Linked DNA regions of Homo sapiens: region 2 is linked to region 1. Evidence: promoter capture Hi-C in 16 types of primary human blood cells and fetal thymus (Javierre and others, 2016). All regions are on one chromosome and are shown on one strand. Each heading gives the region's core, a stretch centred on a gene start or on the middle of the fragment in contact. The rest is flanking DNA. Distances are from core to core; before and after follow the strand shown. Region 1 holds the start of TTLL10-AS1 (TTLL10 antisense RNA 1). Region 2 overlaps DVL1 (dishevelled segment polarity protein 1).

Evidence for each region. The method cuts DNA at HindIII sites, captures the fragments that hold promoters and counts their contacts. A CHiCAGO score of 5 or more calls a contact.
Region 2: a fragment that was not itself captured here is called in contact with the fragment with the promoter of TTLL10-AS1 in region 1 in 1 of 17 cell types (activated CD4 T cells); the score reaches 6.0 in activated CD4 T cells.

What each region holds. Positions count from the first base shown.
Region 1 is chr1:1,177,168-1,181,508 of GRCh38, reverse strand. It overlaps TTLL10-AS1 (TTLL10 antisense RNA 1), which reads left to right and starts at 1,954. Exons shown (of 2, transcript NR_173246.1): 1 at 1,954-2,144. TTLL10 (tubulin tyrosine ligase like 10) reads right to left here. Exons shown (of 16, transcript NM_001130045.2): 4 at 2,176-2,320; 5 at 1,772-1,852; 6 at 1,169-1,475; 7 at 908-1,026; 8 at 649-778. The coding sequence starts at 2,293. RefSeq lists an enhancer at 1,839-2,338. The HindIII fragment of the contact is 12,910 bases long and covers 1-4,341 here.
Region 2 is chr1:1,343,651-1,347,991 of GRCh38, reverse strand. The region is part of intron 1 of DVL1 (dishevelled segment polarity protein 1); the gene reads left to right. Among named protein-coding and RNA genes, the nearest start is that of DVL1, 3.6 kb to the left of the region's middle. RefSeq lists a silencer at 1-59 and enhancers at 1-241, 242-871, 1,073-1,951. The HindIII fragment of the contact is 5,737 bases long and covers 1-4,341 here.

The DNA.
Region 1 (4,341 bases), core at 705-3,204:
TGCAGATGGAGGCAGCTGCGGTTGGCTGGGCGGGTGCTTGGTGCAAAAATGTCTGGGCCAAATGAAGTGAGGAGGGATAGGTGGGTCCATAGAAGGGCAGTGGGCAGGGCTGGGAGCAGGAGGACGAAGTCGCTAGGATGGATGGCCCAGACTTGGGTGAGCGATGGACGGCCTCACTCAGGGCACCCACAGGTGACGGTGGGCACGGTGTGGGATTGTGGATGGATTGGATGGATGTTTGGGGTGAAGGCAGATTGACAGGTGGGTTGTACCTGGGTGGGTCTGTGAGATGGACAGGTGGGTGGGTGTCAGGCCCAGTGGGTTGGGGACGTGTGGGATCTTCCCCGTTCAGCCACGAGGAAGAGGGTGGGTTTATGGGACAGGGGTTTGGCCCTTTAAAGGACAGGTGGAAGGTGGAGGCAGGTGCTGACGGGTGGGGGCTGGGGCCAGCCTGGGAGCCCAGGTGGCCAGGGGCAGGGGCAAGGGCAGGGGCAGGGGCTGGAGCCAGCCTGGGAGCCTGGGTGGCCAGGGGCAGGGGCAAGGGCAGGGGCGGGCGCAGGGGCAGGGGTGGGGCGGGTGCAGGGGCAGGGGCAGGGGCAGGCGTAGGGGCGGGCGCAGGGACGGGGGCAGGGGCAGGGGCAGACTCACCTGGCCTGGACCCCCCCCGGCACCTTGCTGGCCTTGCTCATGGCCCGTGCCCGTCCCCGAAGGGTGCTGAGCAGCCCGATCTTGGTGGTGAGGAGCTTGTTGTTGGGAAGCTGGTACAGCAGCTGCTCTCCTGGAGGTCAGAGGCCAGGGCTCGTGTGGAGGGAGCGCAGGACCTCGGTCCCCACCCCTCCAACCTGCCCTGTGCTCCGGCCCAGGAGGCCCCTGCAGGCTGCCCGCCTCTGGTGCCGGCTCCCGCTACCTTCCCGGAAGCTGCCGTAGCTGTCTCGGCTCTTGACCTCACACCACTTCAGCGTGTAGTCGTCCCGGCGGCTGTCATGGATGCGCTGCCAGCCCTTGCTTTTGCAGTAGGAGCTGATGCTGCGAGGGGTGGGGGCGGGGGTGACCTGGGGGCCGAGGCAAGGGGTTGGGGATGGCGGGCGGCCAGCGGAGGCCGGGCTGGGCCCCGGGAGCAGGCGGTGGGTATTCAGTGGGACCACGGGCGCCCAGGGCCGCTACTCACATTGTGGCCCCGTTGCTGCCTCCAATGTAGAAGAAGGGCCCCGGCCGGGTGCTGTGGGGCGATGGCTTCCCACCCCCCAGCAGGAGCCCCTCCAGGAGGGCAGCTGAGGGCCCGGCGGCGTTAGTGTCATCCGAGTCTGCAGGCCGGTGGCTGTTCAGGAGCCCAGGGGGTCCGGGTGTGGCAGAGGCTCTTTCTGCCCCCTCCAGGTCCGGCCCACAGTGTCCATCTGCGTCGTGGTCTGGCTGGCTTGGCTGACACCGGAGTCCCTCCTCCTGGCTGCTCCCCATTGGCCTCTCGTGGGCCGGGCCTGTGAACGGGGTGGGGTCCCACCGGGGTGGCTACGGGAGCTGCCCACTCAGCCCGGACATGGCTCAGCCAGTTTGCTCCCAGCCCATTTCTCCAATACCCTGGACAATCCCCCTGGCCCGTCTGGGGCTCAAGTTCAGCCCGAGCTCTGGCCCCACCAGGCGGCCTGGGGACTGCTTACATCTGGGGAGGGGCCGTGACCACCCTCCAGGGCCAGGCTTCCTGCCGGCAGGTTCCAGGTGGGGGTGGGGAGCTTGGAGCAGGGGGCAGGGAGGTCGCCCCTCCGACCCTCCTCACCAACAGGGCAGTGGCCTGGTGCAGGGCAGGGGCCGGGCTGTGAGGCCGGTGCTGGGTGCAGACGTGACGCAGGGATGGTCCCTGGAGGGCAGGGGTCACAATGTCCATGATGATGTCATGGGTGACCCAAGGGGCCATTGTCAGGCCGGGAGACGAGGGGCTGCCCTTCCAGGGGTGGTGCCAGCCAGGCGGAACCCTGGGCCGCGGAGCGCGACAGCTCCCCTCTGTGCCTGCAGAGCCCGGCGCCCACAGCTGGCCCCTCTCTCGGAGCAGCGGGGCATGGCCATGTGTGGATCCTGCCCCTGCCCCATGAGGCCGACTGACTTCCTTGGGTATGGGGCACCCGTCCCAGGGAGGCCTTGGCCTTGGAGAGGTAGGAGGCCACCCAGGGCTGCTCTATTCACCTGAGACTCGAGCCCGAGGCCTCTGCTGGATCCTTGGCCTCTTGCCCCTCTTGAAGCCGGCTCGGGTCCGAGTGGGTGGTCCCCGGCGGTGGATGAACCGGGTGCAGCTGTGGTCCATTGGCCGGGGGGTGCCCGGGCGAGGGCCCTGAAGGGAAGATGCCGCTCTGACCCTCCTGTGGGACCTCCGCGCGGCCCGAGGCCCCAGTGCTTGGATGGAGCAGGCAGTCAGGCCCACCCTGCCCAGGAAAGGGCGCCTCCCAGGGCCGTGGGCTTGAGCCTCTGCGTGCGGCTGGCTCCCGTCTCTGTGGCAGCTGTGGGGCCTGGCGCCGTGTGGGGGCGAGGCTGTCTCTGCACCCTGTCTCTGCCGGGCATGTCCTCCCTGGCCGGAGCGGCTCTTCAGGTGTGGCTGAGCTCGGCCTGGGTGCCGGCTGGAAGGAGGGGCAGCGTCAGGCCTGCTGGGTGGGGCGCCTGCCTGAAGAATGGAGGGTGGGAGGGCTCCTTGGCCTGAGCAGGGGTCTTCTCTGTCTCCGCTGCTGACCCCGGAGCCCAGCTGTGGGCTGTGTGCAGCCGCCTGGTACCTGCCATCAGGGTTCCTCTGCGGCCGCCCCTGGGTGCCAGGCCCGACCCCCAGGACACTGTCTCCAGCAACACCTTCCCATGTTGCAACTTAGGAATTTTCAGCCAGTTCCTCGACAGATCTTTCTACCTCTGTCTCCAGCAAACAAACCCATCTTGGGGCTGCTTGGGAGGTGAGAACTTTTTTTTTTTTTTTGAGACGGAGCTTCATTCTTGTGGCCCAGGCTGGAGTGCAATGGGGCGATCTAGGCTCACTGCAACCTCTGCCTCCCAGGTTCAAGCGATTCTCCTGCCTCAGCCTCCCAGGTAGCTGGGACTACAGGCACCCACCACCATGCCCAGCTAACTTTTTGTATTTTTAGTAGAGATGGGTTTTCTCCATGTTGGTCAGGCTGGTCTCAAACTCCCGACCTCAGGTGATCCGCCTGCCTCGGCCTCTGAAAGTGCTGGGATAACAGGTGTGAGCCACTGTGCCCGGCTTAGGTGAGGGCTTTCAAGGGTTTGAAGGAACTCGCCCAGGAGACAGGGGAGCACACGGCAGTGTTGGGCAGAGGCTGTGGGGGCTCTGAGGCTGGAGAAGGCTGGGGTAGGCCTGAGGCTCCAGGCTGGGCACAGAGCTCGGCACCAATCTCACCCGCAGGAAGCCTTTGTGTCTGCCCCTCCCTGCCCCGCCTGAGTGACAGGAGGGAAGGAGACAACGAGGAAGCCCACGGGCAGGGGAAGGTGGGGAAACTGAGGCAGCCGTCTGCACGATGACCCAGTCGGGTGGGGCCACTGGGACCCGTCCTCAGGGAGGAGCGGAACACAGGCTGGGCCCCCCACCTGTGTCTGGGAGAGCCTCACGCCCTCTTCCTAGGGTGGGCTGGGCAAGAATGGAAGAAGTCAGGAGCCCTGAGACCCCTCCCCACCCAGAACAGGAGGACTTTTGGAAGAGGCTGGACCCTGCGCAGGCACGGAGCAGGTGTGTGCGTGCAAGACTCTGCATTAAATGGGAGACCTCAGCTCCTTCTCATGGGCCCTCAGCACCCAGGATTCCTGCTGGGGAAGGGGATCCTCTAAAGTACTGACTCTCAGCCAAAGGGGCTGCCCAGGCCCAACAGGCATCATCAGAGGGACTCCCAAGTGTGAAGAAGAGTGACACAAGGACAGCCGGGCGCGGAGGCTCACGCCTGTAATCCCAGCACTGTGGGAGGCTGAGGCGGGCAGATCATGAGGTCAGGAGATTGAGACCATCCTGGCTAATATGATGAAACCTTGTCTCTACTAAAAATGCAAAAAATTAGCCGGGCATGGTGTTGGGCGCCTGTAGTCCCAGCTCCTTGAGGGGCTGAGGCAGGAGAATAGCTTGAACCTGGGAGGTGGAGCTTGCAGTGAGCTGAGATCGTGCCACTGCACTCCAGCCTGGGCGACAGAGCGAGACTCCGTCTCAAAAAAAAAAAGAATGACACACAGACACATTTACACACACACACGCACAGACACACAGCTACACACAGACACACACAGACATGTCGACACTTGCACAGATGCACAGACACACCTACACACACAGACACATGGATGCACAGACACACCTACAGACATGCACAC
Region 2 (4,341 bases), core at 1,155-3,654, 170 kb before region 1:
GGTTGTTTCTTGGATTCTGTGGTTGCAGGGTCCTCAGGCAGCCCCAGGTCCAGTCAGGCTGGGTCCGCTCTGGAGCTCTCAGGGGGGCCCAAGGGACATCTAGACAGCTGTACTTTCCTTCCCCACCCCCACGACCAGGCAAAGCAGAGAGGGCAGGGTGCGTCCTTGGCAGCCTTTGAAGGCTGGGCGCTCCCCACTCGGCTCAGCGGCCCTCCTGCCCGCTCCGGTCAGGTTGGGCAGGAGGGGGCGGTTTGTTTTCTGAGTCTGGTCCGGGCTCCTCCCCAGCTGGGGCACCTTGCAGTCCCTGCTTCTCTGGGCCTGGGCTGCTTTGGCCTTGAGCATGGGGCATGTGTCAGGTACTTTTGTTTTTGACTTAGTTTATTATTCTAACGAAAGTTACCAAAGTTACTAATGCTGTTTGTTGCAAATGTGTGCCACCAGGAAATGCGTAGTGAGGAGGTGCCCAGCCCCCAGGTTCTGCTCCTGGACCATGCTCTGGGATGAAGCCCTGGGGGAGTCCGCCTTCTGCTCCTGACACCCACCGGGGGCTGCCCAGGGCAGAGACAGCCTGACTGTTGCCCTAGTGCACTTCTAGCAGTGGCTGCACCTGCTGGGCACATTTGGAGGACGCGTGGGTGCCCGGGCCTGGGAACAGGGTGGGCAGGTCTGGGTGTCGAGGCAGGCTTGGGGATGCGGCCAGGAAAGAGACAGGGGAGCTTCAGTGTACAGCTTTGGAGGCTGCAGACTTACAGGGGGCTGGGAGTCAGTGGGGCTGCAGAGGTCAGGGCTGGGCTGGGCTGGGCTGTGGGGGTTGGAAAGAATGGACTGGGGTGATGCTGGAGGTCCAAGACGAGGGCCTTGCTCTGTAGCCTCCCAGGTCCTCTGGCTGGGATGGGGGCCTTGCTCTGTGTCCTCCCTGGTCCTCTGGCTGGTGGCCTCAGGAGCCTACGGAGGACCCTCATCAATTACTTCCTTCATCCCTTCCCCTGAGTTCTACCCGCAGACCTCTCAGCACTGTCTGTTCTGTGGAATAGAACCCCCGTGGGAGGGGCTGGTTGGTCAGTAATACTTTAGCTTAAGCGACTGCTGAACTAGACACTGACCCTGGATGCCAAGCGAATGTAGTTGGAGATGGGGGGAAGAGAAGGCAGGTCCTCGCTGGTCTGGGGTGGCCTTCATAAGAGAGGGAGCTTCAGGCTGGGGACGCTGAGGAGGCCCTGGTGAGTCGGGGGTTCCTGCGCCAGCCCCCGCTGCATTCTCAGCCCAGCCCTGGTTCCCCAGCCTCTGCTCCAGAGCATGACTGACCACCTTGCAGTGCAGGGAGCCTGTGTCATGGCCACAACCACGTGCCCTGGTCTGGACCCCACTCCCCACGCACGGCTTTGGCCCAGTGGGTGAAGGTCCCCCGCCTGTCCTCCACTTTTCATGCCCTGGTCACAGCTATTCTGACCCAAGATCCCCAGGGCTGGGAGGAGGGCAGAATTGGGGAGGGTCTCTGCCTGGTGCTGGGTTTGGTGGTTGGCAGGGGGTCTCGCCCAGCCTTGGGCCGAGGCAGAGGAGGGAGGGTGTTTGGCTCCGGGTCCCCACTGCTGGGTGCGTGGCGGATGCTGGGCCTGCTGGACTTGGCACCGAGGCTGTCTGTTGGGCACAGCTCCCACAGTTCATCTCCGAGGTGGGGGTGACCCAGGCCTGGGACTGGGGGATGGGTGGAGGCAAGGCTGTGGGCCCAAAGCCCTGGTCCCCAGGGCCGCCTGCCATGGGCCTCGGTGTTGTGACAGCTCCTTGTGTCCTGGGTGGTGCTGTGGGGAGCTATGGAGTTGGGGAGGCTCTGCCTGGCCTGGGCTGTGGGGGGAGTTCCCACTCCGCCCTCCCTGGCTGTGCCACTTGGGGTCTGTGACTCAGCCTCTCTGTGCCCTGAGTGCCTCCCTGGTTTTGGGAGGGTCCAGGCAGTTCACCTACTGCACTCATAGCCATGGCCTAGCAGGGACACTTGAGCCTGTGTGTCCTGAACCGGGGGAGGGGCACAGAGAGATCCCAGGACTCGGCACCACCCAGGGGACAGGCTGGTGGAGAGCCCCTGGCTCTGGGGTCAGGGGTTGGGAGGCCACAGACCCCCAAGGCTGAGGGCCCTGACCTGGGGCGTGCACAGGGGGCTCTGAGGGCACAGGATGGCTCTGCACCGCCTGTCCTGGGCCAGCTACCCCTGCCAGCTTCCTGCTCCGCCTTGGGAGAATGGGGTGCATTCGGGACCACGCCACGTCTAGGGCAGCTGGCTGTGGCCTCTGGGAGTCTGGAGGGTTCTCTGCATCCTGTGTGGCCATGCTGGCTCCCAGGGCGCTGCCTCTGAGTGGATTCCTCCCCGGGGCGGGTCTGTGGGGGCAGCACACAGGTTAGCCAGGCCTCACAGGGAATCCCAAGGTGGGGGCACAGTGCCGGCAGGGGCGCCCCTGGCAGCTGCCGTGAGTTTCAGCGGAGGCTGCTACAGAGGCGCGGGGACCCCGGGTTGTGGGTACGCCCCCAATGCCTGGCCAGCCTCCAGCACCCTCCCCCATCTGGCTGGGGTGGGGACGGCAGGGCTCTGCCTGGGACCTGGGTAGCTGATCCCTGGAGCCCCAGGCAGACCCCACCCTTCCCTCTGTGCTGTTTGGGTCCTGCTCCCTTTCTCCTGGCCCAGCCAGGCTTGGGTCTGCACCCTGCCACTGGGGGCAGGGGAGGACTTGTTACACCCTGTTGGGCTGAAGAGGGCGGAGTGAGTAGGGCCTCTGGGTCCTGGCTGGACATCTGTGAGGGGGCAGGGGGCAGGGACATCCCAGGCAGCCTGGGGTCTTCGTGAGGCCCTGGCTGGGTGGGCCATGCGGGCTTGGGCCACTCTGGATGGTGGGAGGGGGCAGGGCCCTCTTCCGGTGGAGCCAGGCGGGTGCTGTACTGGGGTGCTGGGTGGCCGAGTCTCCCTCCAGTGAGTCAGAGGGTGCTGGGTGGCCGAGTCTCCCTCCGGTGAGTCAGAGGGTGCTGGGTGACTGAGTGTCTCCCTCAGGTGAGTCAGAGGGTGCTGGGGTTGGGTGTGGCAGGGGAGAAGCTGCCGGCCAGGCCACCTGGGGCCGTGTGTCAGGGACTGAGGTGGGGACCCTGCCAGGGGCTCTGCTGTGGTCAGGTCCATTAGAGACAAGGGCTCACTGTGGGCCCTGGCCCCCTGGCGGCAGCTAGTGGTGGCCTCGGTGTCCGTGGGGCCCGCCTCACCCTGGGTTGCTCCAGCCTTTCAGGTGTGACAGCCTCTCACTGTGGCGGCCTCAGCCTGGCATGGGGTCATGGTCTTACCTGGGAAGGCTCCTGTGTGGGGGCAGCAGACGTGGAGGGGTCTGAGAAGTGACCTTCTCTGCTCTTTGGGGGCGTCTACCTCATGGCCTGGCCCTGGGTGGCCTGGGGAGGCAGCTGCAGGACCCCAGAGGGCTAGGTAGGGGTCCCTGCTCCCACCTGGGCTGGCCCTGCCTGCTGTCCACTCTGCCCTGAGGCTTGGGGCCTCTTCCCAGCAAGTGGGTGGGCCAGGGCTTGGGTGAGAGTGTGGGTTTGCCACTTTGCCGGGGGCCTCCTGCTACCTACTGCTTCGGAGTCTGGCTGAGTCAAGGTGCCCCGGGGTCAGGGGACCTGGAGCGGCCAGTCGGGGTGGCTCTGTAGCTCGCAGTGGGACTAGCAGCCACAAGGCCGCTTCCTGCCAGGTGTGCGGCCAGGCCAAGCCCCGTCTCCGGGCTCCTATTTCTCCACTGGGCCCAAGTCCCGGGCGTGGAAAATGCTGCTGGGCAGGGCAGGGTGCCACGAGGCGGCGTCCAGATCCTACCCAGCCTGCTGCCTGGGCCCTCAGAGGTCACAGTGTGAGTGTCGACCACAGCCCTGCCTGCCTTGCTCCTTGGCCTGGGGACCTGCCCCTGCCCAGCCATCCCCTCTGTGCCGTGTGGGTTGCCACCCTGCCCTCTGAACTCTGAGCTCGGGTCACCCGGCCTCCTCCTGGTTCGTGTCCCCTGACCCTCTGCGGCCTGCCTGGGTGCCCTCTGCCCCGTTCCCAAGCCTATCTGACCTGGGGGTGGACTGGTGAGGCACCTGGCCAGCTTGCTCTCCTGGGGGCCCTGCCGGCTCCGCATCCCCTGCTGCCCCTCTAGGTCCTGAGGTGCAGGGAGGTTTGGTGAGTGGAGGTCTTTGTCTCCCTGGCTAGGTGGACAGGACAGGAGGGTGGTGGGCGGCCTCTGGGGACCTGTGGGCCCTCCCAGCCCACCTACGTCCGTCCGTCGGGTCTGAGAGTCCTTGTAGGTGGACTGTGAGCCTGACTAGGGGTGCAGGGCAGGGGTCAGG